Linked DNA regions of Homo sapiens: all the other regions are linked to region 1. Evidence: promoter capture Hi-C in 16 types of primary human blood cells and fetal thymus (Javierre and others, 2016). All regions are on one chromosome and are shown on one strand. Each heading gives the region's core, a stretch centred on a gene start or on the middle of the fragment in contact. The rest is flanking DNA. Distances are from core to core; before and after follow the strand shown. Region 1 holds the start of SAMSN1-AS1 (SAMSN1 antisense RNA 1). Region 2 has its middle 220 kb from the start of USP25. Region 3 has its middle 240 kb from the start of USP25.

What was found. The method cuts DNA at HindIII sites, captures the fragments that hold promoters and counts their contacts. A CHiCAGO score of 5 or more calls a contact.
Region 2: a contact is called between a fragment that was not itself captured here and the fragment with the promoter of SAMSN1-AS1 in region 1, in 1 of 17 cell types (total CD4 T cells). The highest score is 5.5, in total CD4 T cells.
Region 3: a fragment that was not itself captured here is called in contact with the fragment with the promoter of SAMSN1-AS1 in region 1 in 1 of 17 cell types (monocytes); the score reaches 5.4 in monocytes.

The regions. Positions count from the first base shown.
Region 1 is chr21:14,579,839-14,584,058 of GRCh38, forward strand. SAMSN1-AS1 (SAMSN1 antisense RNA 1) reads left to right here and starts at 2,364. Exons shown (of 5, transcript NR_046512.2): 1 at 2,364-2,453. It also overlaps a transcript of SAMSN1 not described here. The HindIII fragment of the contact is 2,204 bases long and covers 253-2,456 here.
Region 2 is chr21:15,510,134-15,514,353 of GRCh38, forward strand. No RefSeq gene overlaps it. Among named protein-coding and RNA genes, the nearest start is that of USP25, 220 kb to the right of the region's middle. The HindIII fragment of the contact is 8,662 bases long and covers 1-4,220 here.
Region 3 is chr21:15,490,091-15,494,310 of GRCh38, forward strand. It overlaps the pseudogene CYCSP42. Among named protein-coding and RNA genes, the nearest start is that of USP25, 240 kb to the right of the region's middle. The HindIII fragment of the contact is 3,386 bases long and covers 730-4,115 here.

The DNA.
Region 1 (4,220 bases), core at 1,114-3,613:
AGATAAGTTATTCATAGGAAGTATACAAATACTGAACTAATTCCAGCACAAGTGGAGTATGGTTAAGTTCCATGAAGATGAGGGCAGTGTAGATATCATTTAGCTCTGTATCTCCAGTGCCTGATATTGTGAATAGCAAATAGTAGGTTGGCAGGATGTGTTTCATGGATATGGAATGAAAGAATAATGCCCTCAAATAATGTAGAAGTTCAAAGGAAGGAGGGACTACTTCTGCCTGGTGTTACTCAGAAAAGCTTTCTAGATGATGAAGTATTTGATCTGAGTCTAAGGGATGATGGGATGGGTTCTAACAGAGAGAATTCACATATCAGGCAGAGGCCATCACACTGTCACAAAGATAGAGGGAAGAAAGTGTGAGACAGCCTTTAGGAATAGCAAATCATTCAGTTTGGCAGTTCGGCATAGGAAATCAATAAGGTGGGGGTAGTGCACAGATAAGACTGAAAAATTAGATTGAGTCCAGACTGATGAAATCCAGAAATGCCAAGTTAGGGAGTCCAGATTTTATTCTTGAAGAAAACTCTGACTATTTGTGTTCAGATGCCTATACAACAGCTTAGCCACTTGCCAAGGAGTCATCAGCCTTGATCCTGCTTCTGAAGATATCAGAGGGAGTCATCAGAAGCACGTCCTAATTATATTACCAGCTACTCTCCAAGAAGCTACTCTAAGAGAAAACCTGCAAAGTGCAGCAGTCCCAGAAAAGAAGATGAAGATTAAAGAAGAAGGAGGATATTTAGAAATGATTAATGTTGGTCAGTTTCATCAGTTCGAAGTCTGTTATCAGATACCTGTTATATTTACTATGGCACTTTGAACACAAGTTACTTTAATTCTAGTCTTTGCAGACTTAATGCACAAATCTTAAAAGGCAAAAAAAGTTCCAAGAGAAAATATGCCTTTTAAGAGACCTCTAAATATGTTATAAAATGTAGCTTCTGTCTAAGAAGAGACTGATTCTTTGAGGAAAATGGTAGAGAGTAGGCTCCCTGGATACACAGAATTGTCCCATTCATTCACTGAAAACACACATGACCAGAGGAGCTGTAGGTAAAGTTATAAAACATGCCTTGAGCAATTTACAAGGAAATTGAAAAAAAAGTACCACTCTTAAGTACTAGAAGATTTATAATATTTGACTTTAGCTTCTTGACTATTTCCATTTTTTAGTTAAGAAAGTTAAGATTAAAAGGTTTAAATAACTTATCCAAGCCCAAAAAAAAAGTAGCACAGCCAGAATCCATCCAAATTTGTTTGACTCCAGAGAGCATACTCTTTCTCACGTATCACATAATAGCCTTAGAGTCTGCCCTCGTATATGGAAAACACTCTAATGTAGTAGCTAAAAGCAGGAGCTCTAGCTAAAAGCAAGACCTAGGTTATAGGTCTTGGCTCTACCTCCTGTTAGCTGTCTGACTTTGCACCTGTTACCAACTTTTTGTGCCTCCATTTTCTCAACTGTAAAATGAGGGGAAATAATATTTCTTTTTTTTTTTTTTTTTTTTTTTTTTTTTTTTGAGGACGAGTCTTGCTCAGTCGCCCAGGCTGGAGGGCAGTGGCGCGATCTCGGCTCACTGCAAGCTCCACCTCCTGGGTTCACGCCATTCTTCCGCCTCAGCCTCCCGAGTAGCTGGAACTACAGGTGCCCGCCACCACGCCCGGCTAATTTTTTTGTATTTTTAGTAGAGACGGGGTTTCACCTTGTTAGCCAGGATGGTCTCGATCTCCTGACCTCATGATCCTCCCGCCTCGGCCTCCCAAAAGTGCTGGGATTACAGGCATGAGCCACCGTGCCTGGCCAAAAATAATATTTCTTAAGGTAATATTTCATAATGTAAGTCCTTACCTTATAGAGTTGATGTGAGATTTAAATGAGATAATACATATAAAATGCTTAGGAAAATGGCAGGCCCAAATAAAATGCTCATTAAAATTAGCTATTATTTTTCAGTGAAATTTCATTATAATTGCAATAATTTAGACAGTTCACTTCACATTTTCTTGATCTCAGTCAACACACGAAGTCTTCCTTCAATCAAAAAGAAATCCCTGGAAAAATTTTATGCAGTCATTAATTTGTACACAAAGGAATATATGAAATGTTAATATGGGTAAAAGTCACAAGAGTTTGGTTGCTTTTTGGAAAGACAACTCTTGCTCTGGTAACTTTTCTGAAACTGATAAATTTCACTGATTAGCACTTTTGCTATCTGTTTCTTTCCCGACAGTACAAAACCCCAGATAAGATGACACATTTCCGTAGTCTGCAAACTTACCCATGAATGTAGGAGATCCATATCTGAGCAGGAAGACTTGAGACGTGTGTGGCGAATACAAGAGGAGCAGTGGTCCCAGGGTCCAACTTGTGCTATTTGGAAATCAAGACATGTCCAGAGAGGGTTTTCAGGAAAAGGCTTCCAGTGATGCCACATGTAAGCTTCACCTTCATACCAAGCTAATTTATCTTCCAAGTTGCAGTTATTTAAAGTGCTGGATCTACCCAGTGATGCAGAAAGAGTATCCAATCTAATCTCCATTTCTTCCTTCCTCCTCGTGCTAACACTATTCACTTTCTTTTCTCGGGACTTGGTTAATTTCAAACAAGAAATCAACGTGTCATCTTCATCTTCTGAATGACAAAGAAATAGGTTAAAAACTATGATTATAATTCTTCACATATAGGAATTATTCTTCCATTTATATAAGAGAAATAAATACACTGCAATGGATAAACCAAGAAGTCATTCAATTTTATAAAATTATTTACAGCAGCATTTATTTAAAAAGCAAGTTATTTTGCTATATAAAATTTTTTGTTTTGTAAAAGTCGCATTTTTCTGACATTTTTGAAACCATAACAATTGATTAAATTCTATCTCACTGGAAAGAATGGAGGCCACATACAAATAATATGCTGAAAGATATTTGAGAAAAAAATACAATTAAAAAACCCACCTCTTATGTTTCTATTCTTAAATATTTTTTTAATTTTTAAGGTCATGTGTATAATAAAGAATTATAAGGAAATAAATAAAATTATTTGCCCTACTTAAAAGAATAAAATCTCAGTGGTTTGGACTGAAATCCTACTGACATTCTGAAATTGTCTATTTTAATATCAATCTACCAAGAGATGTATGGATGCAGTGTGTCTCACAGTGAAATGGTTTTCAAAAAACAAGAACGACAAAAATTTAAAAAAGCCATATCTGTAATACCATAAAGTTCATTTGTGAGATCTATATTTACACAATGTGGCAAAGACTCTGATGAAATTTCTAGTAATGTAGAAAACAGTTACAGAAAATAGAAATATATATCACCCAGAGTCAATTGCTCTATGTCATGGAATCCCTTTAAATCCAAACGTTTAATGGGTATTTTTAAAAGAGTTCGATTACTTAAGGCATGCTATTATAAATAAATAAATGAAAATCAAAGTTGCATGCCATGGACATACCAATTTGTTATGCTTACATCAAAATTCAAATACATTGTTTTCTATGGCCAAGGAATGGCGACAGTGGACACTGCTGAGCTTCCTCCATTGCTCTCTCTCACTGTGTCTCGGAGCCCGGTCTTGAAGGCAAGGAGAAACGGGGCGGTGCATAAATACGGGGTAAAATTCAGGAACAGATGGGGATGTCTGTTTTAAAATAACTTGGCAATAAAAAAAAATCCTCAATGTTTAATGATTATCTTAAGACTTTATCAAAATGGGCTTCATTAACGTATGCTTCCTTAGTTCTCCCTCAAAGGAGTTTTAACAGCTTATTGAGTTCTTACTTACGGAGGTTTATTAATGTCGGTTTCACCTCATCCAGATTCTGCACTCTGGCTTTCTTAGTCCAAACCAGTTTCTGTAGTCGCTTTAATGTCCCCATTGATTCCACAGGGTCACTGCCTGATTTTATGGCCTAGCACAAACACAGCTCAAGGTAAAGACAAATTATTCCTCACAAAAGATTAAATATAAAATATGTTGAGATCATAAATGTGGAAAAATTAATAATGTGACCTTAAAACCTGAAGCCTGAGTCAATTTAAGCACTAACTTGAAAGCACACCATACTTTTTGGGTTCAAAATTATAAAATATGTTACAACTGGCCAGGCATACTAAAGCAGAGTGGTTTTACCATTTTTTTTTTTTACTTCAAAATACAGCAAAATGGATTGAATTCAGAAATATCTATAAAT
Region 2 (4,220 bases), core at 919-3,418, 930 kb after region 1:
ATTACACTGATAACTATACATTATATGTATTGAAATATCACTATGTACTCCATAAATAAGTACAATTATTGTATGTCAATTATAAAAAAATTAAATTAAATTAAATTATAAAGCTAACAAGGGTGGCAGGTAATATGCAAAGTTTTCAAAAAACATATTCTAGCAGTTCCTGGTGGTCTGCTGCCCAGTCTCTGGAGACTGAATGTAGCTCAGGCAGAGGACGTGGGCCTTGGCAGTTGATCCGTAGATACTGAAGTTGTCTCATGTTTGCTGATAACCAGTGTCCATTCCCACACCTCCATCTTACGACTGTAAGCTATTGAAATGTTCCTTCAGCTCACATAATCCTGTGTCCAACTTCAATTTGACAAAATGATCTTGGTCCACAATTATTTGCAGTTTTATTTGTTTCTCTTAACATGATCCCTCTAATGACTTAGTGTGCAGAAATTTTTCCTGGCATAGTCAGTCGATATTTGTCAATGACCTAATTTATAACCTAGTAGTTTACTAAGAGTAGTACAGACAGACTCTGTTCTTCTACTACTATCTCCATCCACAATCACCTGTAAATGTTTATTGATACAAAAGTAAAATGTTCCTTACAGGCATGGTTTCAATTCTAAATTTCATAAGACTGAATTTTTAAAAATCCTTCCAAAATATATAAAGGCATTCCAGATTTAAGGTATGTTTACTTTGTAAAATAGCAGAGAAAACATAAAGAAATGGAAGTTTATAATATGCAAAGTTGTAGATATTTAGAAGTATTCAAAAGAAGGTCTTTGGCAAGATATTTTTGATATTTCTAATCAAAAGATAGGTAAGTGCTAATCCAGTACTTATGCAAGAGAAAATTCCCTGAAAAAAATGGAAAAAGACATTCATAAAATGTCTCAACTTTTTATGATTAAGTTCAATAGACAAAAACTTTGCCAAATTACTGTGAAAATTTCTAAATGTTTATTCTCATTTCTATACTTACCTTATTGCGATCCAGTATCAGTTCAGAAGCAGGTATCAGGCTATGAATCACATTTTGAGTAGCACTGGCTTAGCGGTCTTCATCCAGTGTATTTCTAGAGGTTCACTACTAATTCCTATGGAGACCTTTGTTTTCCAGAACAAAAATTAAATCAAGATGCAGATGAAAGTCAATACCTCCCTCTTAAAAATAGAAATCTTCTTTGTATTCATCATGCCTTAATATTGTATTCTCTTCTTACACCAAATAGTTTCTCTGGGTGCCTGGGAGAAGAAAGCATGAGTAAGAACAGAATGAAAAAGGAGACCTAGGAGATATGCTGTATTGTTGATTTATGGTCATATGTAACATTTATATGCCATTTTTCATCTGTTTCTTCTAAACGAGCTCAGCTCTTACTAATGATCAGTGTCCTGATAGTCAAGGTGTTGGCAAAGTTTCCTTAGGAGCAGGACTATTGTTTTTTCTCCTATATCAAATGACAGACCATTGATTCTCTAAGGAATGTCAAAAAACTATTACAGATTTTAAGACTAAACCGATAGTGTGAATAATAAATTTAAGATTATTTTAGTGACTCATTCCAAAATTTGAGGTAATCTGCTTTTCTTCTGACAATAAAAAGAGGGTAAATCGGCTTAATACTATGGGTCAGGGTGGAGGCCCAGCATGGCCCTGTGATATTCTAACCCTTGTGGGTGTGAGTTCTCATTGAGTACGCTGTCCTTGCCTTCCATTCCTTGCTATTGCAGTGTCATGCAGCTTACTTGCTCTCTGCCCTGTGCCACAGGCCTTCTCTCACTCGGTAGCTGACCCTTCATGTGTTTAGCTCCAATGGTTTGGAATCCTTGCTTTCTTTTCTCACCCTCTGAATCACTTATTATCTTCCTAATTAAAGCACCTCTTCATTAGCATATGATGAAATGCATGGAGTAGTGTGGGGCACCTTGTTTTAAAAGGCCTACTAATGACACATAAGCAAGATTCTCCCTCCCAGTACCAATGTCTCGGCCCCTGTGACTCATGATCTAGCTGTCTAGTCCTCTCTATCTCTATTTCTATTTTATTTATTTCTTAGAATCCATAGCTTTTTCCATATTTACCATCACCTTGAACTAGGAAAATGAAGTATGGAAAATAATTAAACCATTAAAATGTTAATATTTTTCTATACTAGCTTTCCTGCAGCTGGAATATAATGAGCTAATGAAGCCAAAATTTTTTTCAATTTTATTTTTTAATCCTATGCTATATAGTTTGAAATAGCAAAGAGCAAAATCAAGGTTGTAAAAAGATGTACAATGGGTGATTGAGAAGATACTCTAATGGAAATATGGGTTATAGTTAATGCTGTGTTTGTTCATTTTTAAAATATCATTTAGCACTTACTATGTTCTAAATCTTTGGGATACAACAGTGAATGAAACAGATAAACATATTCTAGAGAATTAATGCAGAGAGTATTGTTAAATAATTCAGAATAACATTTAAATTATGTTTAATAACATAATTTCAGACCCAACATATAAAAACAAACTGATTTTGTAAAATAACATTAAACATTATTTGGGTACTCAATAAATTGGAGTGCATCTGCTTGAAATATAAGAGACTTATGACATCCTGGAGAATGTTAGCTAGCTTCCTATTGGGGGAAAAGTATAATTTGATATAGTGTTCTTAATATTTTTAGGAATTCATATTCTCTTTAATTCTGTCAACGTGCTTCTAAGTACTGAAAATCATATTAGGAAAAAGCTGGCATTCAAACATGCCATAATCATTATTTTTAGTCTAAATTTTTCTGTATTTGAAGGACTTACTCCTTGAGCAAGTGCTTACTAAGGAATCCTTTTTATAAAGTAAAATACAACCACATATTAAGACACAGTTGTTCTAATCATGCATGTGGCTATTTTATTATGGCTGTTATATAAACACTACACCATATTTCGCCAACAGAAATGCAAAAACATTATGAAAGTGTTACTTCTGATCAGATATGTATCTGAAGCCGTTGAGTTTTTATATCAGGGATTGTATTATTCTGGCCACCTGGGGAAATAAGCAGCCAGGAAAATCTGGCTTGGACTGGGACAAGACTAATGCACTAATACTTATTTATGAAAGCATCATATATTCTGCTCTTCCGTGAATTATTGCAGTAAGAGTTTCACTGCAGTGTACATAAGGTGAAAATAAAAGCTGGAATGCTTCACTATGTGAATGTGCCACAACCTACCACTGAAGAAAGGTTAAGGATTTTTCTTTGATTTTTTAAAAAACTAAAACAAATTTATTTAGAGTCTCAATTATTGCTCAGTTAGGATAGAGACCTTTCAGCAGGGTAATATGTTGTTGCATGAGCAGATTTTTTTAACAGTAAAAAAGAGTATTCACTGAGGTTTTATGAAGATTAATCGATACTCTGGATAGATATTAGATTAACAGTCTTCAGATCCATTAGAAAAAGATGGGCTCAGATAGTTTAATTTAATATTTTTCATTTTCCAAAGATTATTCATGTGAATATCCTTGATGAGTTCATTGTTGTCTTCAAGAAAAAGCCCGCGCTTCCTTTTAGAGCTATATAATCAAATGACCCATCAAATTAATTAATAGAATTTTAATCTAGTGCAGCTAGCATGCTAATTAACTTGTCAAGTATGTACACAAAGTCTCCATGAAAGTTATTTTTGAAAGTCTTTGCAAGTGTGTTATGTGTGATTGCAAGTGCATGCAGTACCTTTGAAGCAATACACAAGAACCTTGGAAGGAACAATAGCTGGTTCCACTGAAGGAGGAGAACTGGGCAGCTGAGAAGCAAGGGAAAAGGAAGACAGACATTTTAAATTATGTGTCTTTTGTATTTTGAGTTCTGTTCCATTAGCATATATTACTATTTTTAAAATTGTTTTAATTAAATATTTGCCCAAGATGCAACAAAAGAAAGAGAAAGGTAAGAGAGGGACAAGAAAAGGGTAAAAAAGGGGATGTGAGAGGGGAGGAAGAGAGAAGCAGGGAACGCTTAACATGCTGTTGTAACCCACTATTACAAAAATACCCTAATCTGAGATCCTCTTTCCTTCCTACTCTTCTCCCCATGAAAGTTCCACTCAAACTAATCTGAATCTAGTTCAAGTCCTCATCATCTCTCGCCTGGTTGACTGCCACAGACTTCTGTCTTCCCTGACTCTGATGTTATCTGAACCATCTGCAGAATAAAGATCTCTGC
Region 3 (4,220 bases), core at 1,173-3,672, 910 kb after region 1:
GAAGGAAGAGTCACATAAGGCAGATCTGGGAGACAACAAAACATGCAACTTGTAGTTGTCCTCGCCCAGTGAAGTGGTGCAGACTGTGCCTATTTCTCCCAGAAAGGATGAGTGACAGTACACATGGAGTCTCACCAACTAGAGATGCTCACCTAAGTTTTAGTGTCCTGAGTTTTATGGGGGATTGGTCACATTGACATGACTTACCACACGGCTGATCATAGTCTCCAGTCCCTCCAGAGGTCAAAACGATAACATGTTGCCCAAGAATAAATAACATGTTGTTCCATTGTTAGCACAGACAATCTGGTGTGGCCCAAGGCCTCCCGGAAAACAAAGAAACTCATATAGGGCAAGGACATTCCAAGGTCTTAGAGATTTACCTCCCAGGAGCCCAGGGAAAAGGCCAAATCTTTCTTTGGACAAAATTAATTCTTTACTGCACACCAGCGAAGATCATTTTTGTTCCAAGGATGTGTCTTTTTGGACACATCAAATATTCTATCAGTGTTCTCAGGCACTACCTTTGTTCTTGTTGGCATCTGTGTAAGAGAATCCAGGGCCTGAACCATTGTCCACTCAAACAGACCATACACACCTGGTCCAGTTTTGTGCATGCCTCCCTTTTCCACAGTGTGCCACTTGCTATAGTTCTGAACAAAAACTCCCTTGCCCTTCGGAGCTTTATTTATTTTTAATTTGCTCTGTCATTGCATTGCATGCAATAGAAGCTTCCTGGTGGAAGCTCAATGTTCTGCTCAGTCCCAGACACGTTTTCAGCCACTGTATCATTGCCTTAGGTTGTGGTTTCCCCAAAGCAGCACCGGAGGTAAGGGCTTGTGTGCAGGAGTTCACTTGGGAGGTGGCTCTAGGAAATAGAAGCGAGTTTCCAGGAAGTGTGGGATGAATACGGGGATGGGGTGGGGGGCGGGGAGGAATCCAATATGAATATATAATCTCATATTGAGTATAAAAATCCAATATGAGTATGTTTTCCAGACTGCTGCTAAGGAGAATGGTGAATTATTCTACTGCGACCTTTTGAGGGTCCACACAATGCCTCCCAAAACTATCTACCAGAGGGTGGATAGGAAGCATTGATCCATGGCTTATATTCCCCATTGGTCAAACATTGTTCTGCTGAAGCTCACTCTGGCCACAGTCTTTGGCATCAAAAGAGAACTAGGGCAGAAGTCAAAGACATGGCTGTCAGAAAACTGGAGAGTGCACTGGAACTGTCTACTCCAGGTGTGGCTGGAGCCAGAGAAGTGACCTCAGCCATGTCTGCTGCAACTATATTACCTATGCCAGTTGTTTACAAACGCAGAAGAATATCAGAATCATCTGGAGAACTATTAAAGAACACAGATGCCCTGAATTGTAGAAGAGGGATAGGATATGGGCCTTTGTATTCTTACCAAGCTCCCTGGGTGATTCTGATACTTATACTAGTGTTTGAGTACCACTAATTGATACTCCATGCAGACCCTAGAAGGACAAGGCAGGCTCAACAGGAAGTAATTTGACATGAATTTTGTTGCTGTTAACCTGAACTCATGGTAGGTCTAGAGTGGGATACAGGCTGCCCCATGCCAATTCTGCCATGGACTTTACCATCCCCAGTTGTGTTGGTTCGGTCCACGTAATTGTTGTTGCTGCCTGCTCAGCTAGCACCTTGACACCCTACCTTGCTCTTGCCAACTCACTCCCTCAAAGAAAAGGAAAAGAACACTTAATCTGTTAAAGATATTTAATGAACACCTGCTATAAACTAGCCAATTTGATACACGTTTTACAAACATGATTTCATTTGATGCTCACGACAAATCTGTGAAGTAGGCAGTGTTATTCAGATTTTTCAGATGAGAGATCTGAATCTCAGAGAGACCTGAAGCCCTGTATCTCTTGCGGCCTGGATTAGAAAACAGATGTTTTGGCCTACATAACTGCAAAGTCTTCTCCATTCTTGTCTTTAGAGACAAGGTGTAACCACCACCTGCATTAGCTTTACCAGAGCATTTCTCTGTTCTCCTAAACTTTGAAAAGGCAGATACCTACCTAGCGAACATCTTATTTTGTAGCTGTCAAACCAGTCTCCAAGTATTAAAACAGTATCTGATCACACTTTGGCTGAATAGGTTTATTTAATGGGAAATTTAATGGGAAAGGCATTTATTGAGCACTTACTAGATGCCAAGCCCAGTGTTAAGTGCTTTGTATACAACATCTCTTTCCTTTACTGTTCATAGAAACAGGGCATCATCAGCTTCTTCTTGACCTCACAGAAGAATATATTTATCTGCCTGTAACAAATATGCAGTCAGGTGTGGTGGTTCATGCCTGTATTCAGGCCCATTATCCCAACAATTTGGGAGGCTAAGGCAGGAGGATCACTTGAGGCCAGGGGTTCCAGCCCAGCTTGGGCAACATAGTGAGACTCCACCTCCTCCCTAAATAAATAAATAAAAAATTAGCTGGGTGTGGTGGTGTATGCTTCTAGTTCTAGCTACTTGGGAGGCTGAGGCAGGAGGATCACTCAAGCCCAGAAGGTCAAAGCCACAGTGAGCCATGATCATGCCAGTGCACTTCAACCCGGGCAACACAGAGAGACCCTGTCTCTAAAAAATAAAAATGAAAAATGAAAAAAAAAAAACTTAGCAGCTTGGTTACTCAGAAAATAGATCCTCACAGATCATGAAGGTGATAAGATGCGGCAAATTTTATTCAGATATCTTGCTGGTTTTATTAGATCTGCTTAAATATTTTTGGAGCCTGGAATAAGACAGCGGTTATTTTTGAAGTTTGAAAATTATGACTGAACTTCACTTGTTTATTATTCATAGATTTTTGAGAGAATTTTTAATTATAAGTATAAATGTGTTTTAAAATGTTAAGAAGGATTTCAAATATATCTAAATGTTTAATGGCAGTTTAGCCCCTATCTTCTAATGTTTATTTTCATTCCATATATTCTATCAATAATTGATTCTTTCTCATTTTCCATTAGCTTTTATTAGCAAAGAGCAACCTTATAAGCACAATATAGCACATCTACATTTAGTGCTTCTTGTCCCCAAAATGGCAATTCCATTCGCCTCAGCACTCATATGTCCATACTAAGTTGCTAATCTTTTTCAAAGCTGCTCCAGACAGCTTCAAGGCAAATATACTTAGTGTATTACTTTGTATTCTTTGAACAGACAGCAACATAGTTTTTGACAGCTTATTTTCAACAGATAAGCATGAAGACATTGTAAAACAGTCTAAAGGCATTTAGACTGGTGTTAATGATTTGTTTTGATTCTTTATTGTCTACAGTGTCTGATGTTTCTGCACCAGCTTCTGCTGCTAAAGATAAGATGACATTTGATAGTTCGGTTCATCCTATGAAAAGTTTAATTTAATTACAAAAGGGTCTGATTTGCTAGATTAAAAGGTCAAGTATTATAAAATTCATTTTTGGTGCAGAGATTTGAGAAAGCTGCACAGTGCAAAGTTCAAACAGTCAGAGAAGAGTAAGACACTTTAGAAAATGAGGAAAAATTAAAACTATTGGCTAATTTCATTGGAGAAGGAGAGACTAGAGACACATTCTTGTATATACAGCAGTTGAACATACCACTTAAAATAATTTGTTGTCAGTATTTTTTTTTTTAGCCTTTTGAAAGTTTTGCATCAGGGTGATTTGCCAAAAAAGGGGTGGGGGCAAAATTTAGGGAACTACGCTAAAATTGTCTTTGTTTGAAAATAGCACGAGACTCTACAGAAGTATTAAGATAAGAATGCTCCTAGACAGCACAGGCAAGGACTTCACCGCCTCTTCCCCTGCTCACCATTTTACCTCAACCACACAAGCTCTGCTGACTTTTATTGGGGATTAAATGTCTCCAGACTTAAAAAAGAAAAAAAAATGCAATGAAATCCAGATAGCTGTGCTTGCTCTCAGCCCACTGAAGATGAGAGACAATATAAGCGAACGTTTTAGGGCGACTTCATTTAAGAACATGAAGTGCCTGAGTAATAAGACGGACTGTGCCCATGGTACCAGGGTCAACTTGACCAGCTGACTAAAACAGCCTGCAACAGCTAAGTGACTACCTTAAGCCAAAGAATAAAGCTTTACAGAGGTACAGCTGGTTAGAAGTGAGTGTTAATAACTGAGTGCATAAAAGAGAGAGGGAAACAGCACAAGTGAGGGAAGCTGATGGACTCACAATTTG